Regions from separate parts of the Homo sapiens genome. Here regions 1 and 2 are each linked to region 3. The links are contacts of gene promoters, found by promoter capture Hi-C in blood cells and fetal thymus (Javierre and others, 2016). All regions are on one chromosome and are shown on one strand. The core of a region is centred on a gene start or on the middle of the fragment in contact, and the rest is flanking DNA. Distances in the headings are between cores, read along the strand shown. Region 1 overlaps ARHGEF18 (Rho/Rac guanine nucleotide exchange factor 18). Region 2 holds the start of TIMM44 (translocase of inner mitochondrial membrane 44). Region 3 holds the start of XAB2 (XPA binding protein 2).

Region 1 (3,028 bases), core at 280-2,779, 270 kb after region 3:
TAGCTGGGATTACAGGTGCACACCACTGCACCTGGCTAATTTTGTGTGATTAATAGAGTTGGGGTTTCACCATGTTGGCCAGGCTAGTCTAGAACTCCTGACCTCAGGTGATCTGCATGCCTCAGCCTCCCAAAGTGTAGGGATTACAGGTGTGAGCCACGGTGCCCGGCCAGTGCTTTATTTGTTTTAGGGCTGAATAATATTCAATTGCATGGAGATACCACATTTCGTGTATCCATTGATCTGTTGATGGACATTTGGGTCGTTTTCACCATTTGGTTATTTCAAATCACGCTGCCATGAACAATTGCATACAGATGTACGCAATTGCACGGATGTGTGTTTTCCATTGTCTTGGGTCGTTACCTAGGAAGGGAATTGCTGGAGTACATGCTAATCTATGCTTAGCTTTTTGAGGAACCGCTGTTATGCAGTCTCTTTTTTGAGATAGAGCCTCACTCTGTTGCCCAGGCTGGAGTGCAGTGGCGCCATCTTGGCTCACTGCAACCTCCACCTCCGGGATTTGAGTGATTCTCCTGCCTCAGCCTGTTGAGTAGCTGGGATTACACGTATGCACCACCACACCTGGCTAATTTTTTTTATTTTTAGTAGAGACGGGGGTCTTGCTACGTTGGCCAGGCTGGTCCGGAACTCCTGAGCTCAGGCAATCCCCCCGCCTTGGCCTCCCAAAGTGCTGGGATTACAGGCATGAGCCATTGCACCTGGCCTAAAACCACTGAATTGTATGCTTTAAATGGGTGAAGTATATGGTAGCTCAATAAAGCTGTTCCTAAAAAGTTTTTTGTTGGAGCCTCTTGCAGAGCTTTGGATGGGGCAGGTACACATGGGGCCTGAAGCTTCAGTTTCCATTGCTTCAAGGTAAATTTGCCCCCTGATGCCACCTGTATTCACAGATGAGTGGCTGGACAGTAACGAGCAATGCCAGGGTTTCCACCATCACTGCTTTCCAGGTTGCCCTCCCGGGCTGGTTGGAGGGACTCTGTTCAGCTGCTGTTGTTAAGCTTTGCATCTGTTCTCTTCCCCACCCAGAAGCCGAAGCAGCATCTATGACTCACAGAAACGAAACAAGCAGGCTGTGAAGGAGGAGGAAAGCCAGATGTGGGGGAGGGTCCTGGAGGTTGGTGGGAGCTTGGGAGGGGAAAGGCAGTCCCATTCCTCAGCCAAGTCCCCTTAGGGCTGGAGGAGAGCCTGCAGGGTTGGCTTGCTTCACTGGACAGGGTCCTTGTGGAGGCCTGAGGCCTCCTGTAGCCTGCAGGACCTCATGCCCTGTATCTGTGAACCCTGAAGGTCTGGGATCCAAAGATCAAAGGTGAAAGGCCAGGGTTGGCCGGGCCCAGTGGCTCACACATGTAATCCCAGCACTTTGGGAGGCCGAGGAAGGCGGATCACTTGAGGTGAGGAGTTTGAGACCAGCCTGACCAACATGGCGAAACCTAGTCTCTACTGAAAATACAAACATTAGCTGGGCATGGTGGCATGTGCTTATAATTCCAGCTACTAGGGAGGCTGACACATGGGAATCTCTTCAGCCAGGGAAGGGCAGGATGCAGTGAACTGAGATTGTGCCATTGCACTCCAGCCTGGGTGACAGAGTGAGACTCTGTCTCAAAGAAAAAAAAAAAGGAAAAGAATGAAAAAAGAAAAGAAAAGAAATGCCAGGGTTGTGTGATTGTGCATGTTTTGTTGTTGTTGTTGTTGTTGTTGTTTTGTTTCAAGAGAGTCTTGCTCTGTCACCCAGGCTGGAGTGGTTCCATCTTGGCTCACTGCAGTCTCCACCTCCTGGGTACAAGCGATTCTCCTGTCTCAGACTTCTGAGTAGCTGGGACCACCGATGTGTACCACCATGTCCAGCTAATTTTTGCATTTTTAGTTGAAATGGGGTTTCACCATGTTGGCTAGGCTAGTCTCGAACTCCTGGTCTCATATGATCCTCCCACCTCGGCCTCCCAAAGTGCTGGGATTACAGGCATGAGCCACTGTGCCTGGCTGAGTTTTGTTTTTATAGGGAAGCTTCTGACCGAGGAACAGGTTGAGCTTGACCTGATGATGAACTCAACTGTGATCCTAGTTCCCAATGACTGACTCAACTCTGATCCTAGTTTTACAGATTGAACTCCAATCTTTGTGTCACAGACTGAGCCATGATCCTGGTGTCATATACTGAGCCTTGATCCTGATATCACAGACTGAACTTCATCTGGCTGTCATTGGTTGAGCATTCATTCTTGTATCATAGAATGAACCCCCCTCCTAGTGTCATAGACTAAGCCTTTATCCTGGTGTCATATATTGATCCCTGATCCTAGTGTCATAGGCTAAGCCCTAATCCTGGTGTCATAGTCTTAGCTCTTATCCTGGTATCATAGACTGAGCCCCAATCCTGGTGTCATAGACTGAATCTTGATCTGGCATCATAGACTGAGCTCCAATCCTGATGTCATAGGCTGTGTCCTGATTCCAATATTATGAGCTAAGCCCTAATCCCAGTGTCATAGACTGAGCTCTGTCAATTACCAACCACAATTGCCCCAAACGATTGCCAATCACATTTGTCACTGATCCTCAGCTACCAGTCTCTCCCCTGTAGTCCATCTTCTGTCCTGGAGTTGGTGTGTCCTTTTGATATAACCCTCTGATGGTCACTCCCCTTCTACTGATCCCCACCCCTATAGACTCCAGTCCCCTTAGAATGACATTCAGAGCCCTCCTCAGCCTGTCCTCTTACCTCCCTGTCACACACATGCACACCCAACTCACCATTCTCCTGGTATCTCTGTGCTGTTCCTACCACTCTTCCTGCCTGGCAACTGAGGGCTCTGTCTCAGATCCTCTGCAGACAATTTTAGCCATAGGACTTTGGATTGCTCTGCCTAGCTCTTTATAGAAAAGGTTTGCTGATCCATGCTCTAGAGCATGAGGTCTGTGAGGGCAGTGACTATATCTGATCCACTTTTACATCCCCAAGCTCCAAAAGGTAAAATCTTGTATCAATCACTTTCTATATGTC
Region 2 (3,434 bases), core at 837-3,336, 310 kb before region 3:
ATCCATCGCAGAAGCCAGGAATGCATGCTCTCCGGGGCCAAGCTGCCTCCCTTTGAAATAATGAAGTCCCATAAACCCATATCACAGGTTAGTAATGCAAAAAGACCGGGTGCGGTAGCTCACGCCTGTAATCCCAGTGACTCAGAGGCTGAGGCAGGAGGATCGCTTGAGCTTGGGAATTGGAGGCTGCAGTGAGCTAGATTACGACACTGCACTCTAGCCTGGGTGACAGAGCAAGCCTCTGGCTCTATAAAAAAAAAAAAGGATCCAATAAGACAAACAGCAACAGCAACATACATTAGCTCTCCCAGGGGACCAACCCTCCTCCTCATACCCGGATTGCATGGCCATGTTAAAATACCGCCACCTGGTGGCGGCATTCTTCGAATGGAAAATAGCATCTGGGGTGCTGAAATGACAAAGGCCTGAGCGTCTTCAGATCAGAGTGTCAGTTCACACTGAATCGAAGTAGGACTGGACCACAGTCAGCCCGCTCTCAGCTTCCTCTTCTTATTCGGGGTCAAAACCAACAGGCGTCTTCCCAAAGCGCCGCACAAGAGTGGGCTCCTTCGCTTTCTCGGAGCGACTCACTTGCTGGTCTCTCAGCCATTGTCAATCAATCAGTCATTGCAGGGGCAGCCATAGACAATTACTCTGGAGCTGGTCCGCCGGTCAATCAGAATCCAATCGAATCCGTCCTTGTGGTCGGTGGATCCACGTGCCTGTACCACCTGCCACCAGCGCCCGGCGCGTTCTGTAGCCGAATCACCGCAAGTGACGGAATACACGCCCCTGGGCTCCGCCCCCTCGTAGTCGCGCCCAATCACAGATCTGACCCTCCCAGGAGTGCCCTCCCCCGGGCCACATCCAGTCACGGGCCCCGTCCTTCCAAAACACTGCCCTATCAGAGGTCAAGCTCTCTAGGCATTCCCTACCCTTTTAATGCCCCGCCCTATGACGGACCCAATCGGAGGGCTCTCCCTACCCGAAACCCCGCTCCTGGAGCGGCTTTTCTCAGGCTTGCGCGGCTCTAGGCCGAAGCGGCGGATGACGCAACCGGGCCGCGCCGCGAGAAGGTCACACGATTCTCCAACATGGCGGCGGCGGCCCTGCGGAGTGGCTGGTGCCGCTGTCCACGGGTGAGCGGCGGTGCGGCGCTGGCAGGGCGAGCTTAGGGGTCTTCTGGGCCTTCGGCCACCAAGGCTTTCTTCTCAGACCCTTGGCCTTCGCGACCCTTGCTTGGGCTCCTTAGAAAGCTTGGGGTTAGATCTTTGGGTAGCAGAGGCCAGGACAGGGGGCACAGAGCGTGGCCTGAGGGCGGGGACCGAGCTTACCGGGCAGGGGGCGGCGATGCGCGGGACCTGGGAGGGAGCTGATCACCCTTCGCCCTCTGATCAGACTCCACGTATACAGGAGAGAGAATGGTAGCCGGGGCGGCGGCGTCCCGTGGAAAAAAGTAGAGGGGAAGGCAAAAAAACGTGAAATTCACAGCTCGCGGTTAAATGCCAAGTTCTCTACCGAGAGCATTTCTTGTCTCGTTTCTTCTAACGTTCATTGTGGATGTGCGAGAGGTGGTTCGCGCCCTAGCAGGCTCTTGGGTCCACAGGGCAGTGGCAGTCAAGACGTGTAAGGCGCACTCAGAAAGTAGTACTTCATATTGCTCGTGCTCTTCGTTTTTTCTTTTTTCTCTTTTTTTTTTTTTTTTGAGACAGAGTTTCGCTCTTGTCGCCCAGTCTGGAGTGCAATGGCGCGATCTCGGCTCACTGCAACTTCTGCCTCCTTCTGCCTCCGGGTTCAAGCGATTCTCCTGCCTCAGCCTCAGGTGGATCACCTGAGGTCAGGAGTTCGAGATCCACTGGCCCACATGGTGAAATCCCATCTCTACTAAAACCCCATCTGTACTAAAAATACAAAAAAATTAGCCGGGCATGGTGGCGCGCTCCTGTAATCCCAACTACTTGGGAGGCTGAGGCAGGAGAATCACTTGAACCCGGCAGGCGGAGATTGCAGTGAGCCGAGATCCTGCCACTTTACTCCAGCCTGGGCAACAGAGGGAGACTCCGTCTCAAAAAAAAAAAAAAAAGTTATCCTCAAGTAAATACAGGAGATAGTAGGCACCTGTGTAAGTTTGGGATGTTGCATAGGGTTCTCAGAGGTAGGAGGCAGAGAACAGAGAGAAAAACGGCCCAGGAAATGTGGAAATGGTGGAGAAGTTGTACCTGGTCTTTTGACATCAACACGCCAGGTTCTGTGCTGGGTGACAGGGTGCCGAGCTGAACAGGACCTGCACAGAGCTTTTTTTTTTTCCCCCAATTTTTTATGGAGGCAGGGTCTAGCTATGTTGCCCAGGCTGGTCTCAAACTCCTGAGCTCAAACGATCCTTCCGCCTCAGCCTCCCAAAGTATCGGGATTACAGGCATGAGCCACCAGCTCAGTGCCTGCACAGAACTTAAGGCAAGATCTCGGCTCACTGCACCCTCCACCTCCCGGGTTTAAGCAATACTACAGGTGTGTGGGACTACAGGTGTGTGCCACCACGCCCGGCTAATTTTTGTATTTTTGGTAGAGACGGGATTTCACCATGTTGGCCAGGCTGATCTCGAACTCCTGACCGGGTGATCCTCCCACCTCAGCCTCCCAACGTGTTGGGATTACTGGCGTGAGCCACCGCGCCCAGCCAGCAAGTGCCTTTTACATGAGATCAGCCCAGTCTTTGCCCAGAGCGACTCCCCTAAATTACTCTGTTTATAGCTCAACCCTTGAGGAGGACATTGTAGGTTTATTCCAGAGTTGTCCCTGGGGCAACACATTATCGATGTTTGTGTCTGAAAAATCCAGTTCTCTCATCTTTGGAGGCTGGCAGAAATGGGGTGGGCTCGCAAGAGAAGACTGCTTGCCACTAGCATAGAAGCTTAGAGTGCCTACTTTCAGACTAAGGGATTAAATTGTACATTTAGCCTTCTTCCCCCCATGGGTTGGCATTTCCTGGGACCTGTCCGTTTTCCCCCAGTTTCAGGGGCACGAGGATAGATGTAGGCCCTGGAGGTACAGACACAGCATTTTCTCTTTCCACCAGCTTCTGCTTGCTTCTCAGACTTTGGGAAGATTACAGAGTGCCCGGCATGCATCAGGCATAAGATACAAATTGGCCAGTGAGGCCAGGTGCAGTGGCTCATGCCTGTAATCCCAGCACTTTGGAAAACCGGGGGAGGGGTGGATCACCTGAGGTCAGGAGTTCGAGACCAGCCTGGCCAACATGGCAAAACCGCTTCTCTCCTAAAAATACAAATATTAGCCGGATGTGATGGCGCATACCTGTAATTCCAGCTACTCGGGAGACTGAGGCAGGAGAATCGCTTGAACCCAGGAGGCATAGGTTGCAGGGAGCTGAGATCGCAGCACTGCACTCTAGCCTGAGACTCCGTCTCAAAAAA
Region 3 (3,240 bases), core at 1-2,500:
GAGCCAAAGGCCTCCAGAGCCCCACATCAGGGCAGGGTCGGCTTATGGGAGGCAGACATTAGTCCCCAGCAGACTGCTGCCCCACACCCTCTCCCACCCCTGGAATGAACCCTCAAACACTCCTCTTATGCCCACCTTGCGCTGTATGACATCGTCCTCAAACCACTCGGCCTGATTGGAAACCCAGAACATAGCCACAGGGAAAGTGAGGTAGATTATCATCTGGAATGGCAGAGGGTGGGTGAGGTGAGCTCCCCCCAAGCAATGTGCAGAGGCTCCTCAGAGCCTGGGGGACCCATCCTACTGCAGAGTCCAGAAGCGCCTCGTTACGGCCGACCCAAGAATCCCAGAACTCCCACCAAGGGTACAGAAACCTCGCACCCTAAAACCTAACTCCTATAATCCAGGAGGCCTCATTCCTGAAAGTTCCCTCTGAGCTGGAGTCTTCCTCTCAAACACAGACAGACACACAGACGCCCCAGCTACAATCAAAAGCATCTCCTCGAGACCTCATTACCCATCCCCACTTAAGATCCCGGGAGCACCCCCAAACCCAGGAGGCGTCACTCTTCAACTCCACTTCTCGAAGTCTAGGAATCTCCCTGTCATAGACACCCACCCACCACGAGCCCGAGAGCTCCCCCAGGATCTTAAGTCTTCCTTCTTTAGAGCCCCCTTCTCAGCTCACCCCTCTCTGAGGTCCTTCCTCGGACCAGCCCTCTCACAGCCCCCAAACCCAGAAGCCCAAATCCGAGAACCCCCCCAGCCCAGCGTCCCCTCTCCTGGATTTCCAACCAGAAAGGTTCCTCTCAAATCTTAAGAGCTTTCTCCTTGGAGCTCCCTCTTCCTTTGAAGTCCCCCCATTTCCAACCTCATCTTCAGATCCAGGAAGATCCCCTGCCCAGCCTCCCAACCCACTCCTGTGTCCACTGACCCGAAATATCTCCAGCTTCACCCCCATCTCGTTTCTCCCGGTCAACAAAGCCAGTTCCGCCCAAAGCCGACCCTCCAGCAAGACAGAAGCTCACTGGTGTTTTGCACGCTCCATTGCTGAAGCTGATTGGCCAATGTGTATCCTGATGGCGCATCTTCTGGCGCCTCTATTCTGCTTCCGGTCGCTGGCGTCGTCGAAAAGAAGTCAATAACGTGGGCCTGTCCGTCAAAAATGATTTAACCAATAGAAAACGGGTCTGGCTCGGAGGGGCGGGCCGTCAGTGGTAGACGTCATAAGCGCGCGACTCTCTCCTGTACCTGGGCATCCAGAAAAATGGTGGTGATGGCGCGACTCTCGCGGCCCGAGCGGCCGGACCTTGTCTTCGTGAGTCCACAGAGGAGCCGGGGGTGGCCTGCGTTGGGGCATTGGGACCTGGACGCCGCAGGGGATCGAGGCTGGGTCGGCAAGGAGATTTAGGCCGAAACTGCCAGGCCAAGGTCTGGGAACCCTAATGGGCCAGAGACCGGATCGTCATGTCCGCACCGAACTGTCCAGGAGTAAAAATATGGTGTTGTATCTTCGGGTCTGAGTAGAAAACCACTGTCGAAGGGAAGCGTCTAGCCTCCCGAACCAGGGGCGGAAATGGGGGCGTGCAGGGAATGGGAGAGGAGGAAGATCGCATAACTGAACCTTGAGAGGTGAAGATCGGTGTCTGAAGTAAAGGCTTGCTTACGAGGCCAGGGTTCTGGTTTCTGGGATGAAGGCTTGGTTTTCTGGATAGCGGTCTCTAGGCCTGGACTGCAGCATGACAGTTTCTGGGGTGGTGGCCAGGCTAGAAGAACCCTGGTGATGTGGAGCTTGTCAGGCGATGGCCAGTGAAATACTTACTCTCTGGAGTAGAGGCGTGACATCTTCACCAGATTCTTGGTGTGCAGAGTTAAAGGCTTGGCTTCTGGTGTATAACTCCTCCTGTGAGATAAAGGCCTAGCTTTTAATTTCTGGGGCAGAGTTGAGCTAGACGCTGGCTAGTGGGATCCTGGGGGCGGGGCTAGTGGCTTGGAATCTGGACCTGAGAGCCCTGGTGGCTGGGGTAAAGATCTGGTCATCTGGGCCTGGGGTGGAGATGGGTCAGATGGTGACAGTGGGAGTCTGAGGGGCCAAAGGCCTGGTGTCTGGGAAGAGGCACGTTTTGAAGAAGTGGGGTCTGGTGTCCAGGACTGGCATCTGGGCCAGGGCCTTGGTATCTAAGGAGTCTGACCATCTGGGGCAGAAAGCGAGTGGTGATGCGGACTCATTCCTGGCCCAGAGCCCTAATGACTGAGAAGTCTGATGATTTGGGTTCGATTTTGGGTAGTTGAATTCTGAGGGGTAAAGGTCTGGGCCACTGTCTTGGTGTCGGGCATCTGGTTTGGTGCCTGGGCATCTGGTGACCTGACTTCCTTGGTGGGTGGTGGGATCTAGGTAAAAGTCCGGAGTTTGGACCTGAGCCCCAGCAGTGGGATGGTGCTGCACACAGGCTCTGAGGGTAGGCCTCTCTTCTTCCCATTCCCTGGCCCTGGCAGGAGGAAGAGGACCTCCCCTATGAGGAGGAAATCATGCGGAACCAATTCTCTGTCAAATGCTGGCTTCGCTACATCGAGTTCAAACAGGGCGCCCCGAAGCCCAGGCTCAATCAGCTATACGAGCGGGCACTCAAGCTGCTGCCCTGCAGGTGGGAATGGCTCCAGCTGCCCTGCCCACCAGCCCCCACCCCACCTGGTCCAGTTATAACAAAACTGCCAAGTGGGTCCCGGGTCCCGGGTGATTGCTTCGTGTTTCATCACTGACCTGTACATCCCTTGATGGGTCAGCACACCTTCTCTGATGTCCCAGTCTGTCCCTGTCATTGCTGAGACATGTCACCCCTCCCACACCCCTTCTTCCCACATTTGCCAACTGGGGCAGGGCAAATGGTTCTGGGGGTGTCCATAAAGCTGACCGATCAGCATCTGTCCCCTCCTATTCCCCAGCTACAAACTCTGGTACCGATACCTGAAGGCGCGTCGGGCACAGGTGAAGCATCGCTGTGTGACCGACCCTGCCTATGAAGATGTCAACAACTGTCATGAGAGGGCCTTTGTGTTCATGCACAAGGTTTGGGGCTCGGCGAGGGGATGAATCGGGAAGTGGAGCTCAGTCCATGGTGGTGGGTGGGGCGGGGACAGGGGCTGGGCTCAGCATGTTAGGGATGGGGGCTTGGATTCCTGTTGCTTCTTTGCATGGGAAGTTGGGCTGGACTCAGTCCTGGAGCTGGGGGTTTCTGGGTC

The links. Contacts are between HindIII fragments. The CHiCAGO score rates a contact against its expected background, and 5 or more counts as called.
Region 1: a fragment that was not itself captured here is called in contact with the fragment with the promoter of XAB2 in region 3 in 2 of 17 cell types (M0 macrophages and M1 macrophages); the score reaches 6.5 in M0 macrophages.
Region 2: a fragment that was not itself captured here is called in contact with the fragment with the promoter of XAB2 in region 3 in 1 of 17 cell types (naive B cells); the score reaches 5.3 in naive B cells.

The regions. Positions count from the first base shown.
Region 1 is chr19:7,358,854-7,361,881 of GRCh38, reverse strand. All of the region lies in intron 1 of ARHGEF18 (Rho/Rac guanine nucleotide exchange factor 18), which reads right to left. Among named protein-coding and RNA genes, the nearest start is that of ARHGEF18, 11 kb to the right of the region's middle. The HindIII fragment of the contact is 1,009 bases long and covers 1,025-2,033 here.
Region 2 is chr19:7,941,312-7,944,745 of GRCh38, reverse strand. TIMM44 (translocase of inner mitochondrial membrane 44) reads left to right here and starts at 1,080. Exons shown (of 13, transcript NM_006351.4): 1 at 1,080-1,139. The coding sequence starts at 1,095. RefSeq lists enhancers at 1-428, 429-972, 977-1,346, 973-1,515, 1,516-2,059 and a silencer at 877-946. The HindIII fragment of the contact is 1,655 bases long and covers 1,259-2,913 here.
Region 3 is chr19:7,627,555-7,630,794 of GRCh38, reverse strand. XAB2 (XPA binding protein 2) reads left to right here and starts at 1,250. Exons shown (of 19, transcript NM_020196.3): 1 at 1,250-1,318; 2 at 2,497-2,645; 3 at 2,944-3,067. The coding sequence starts at 1,268. PET100 (PET100 cytochrome c oxidase chaperone) reads right to left here and starts at 1,002. Exons shown (of 4, transcript NM_001171155.2): 1 at 935-1,002; 2 at 136-222. The coding sequence starts at 961. It also overlaps a transcript of STXBP2 not described here. RefSeq lists enhancers at 909-958, 1,219-1,338. The HindIII fragment of the contact is 14,766 bases long and covers 1-3,240 here.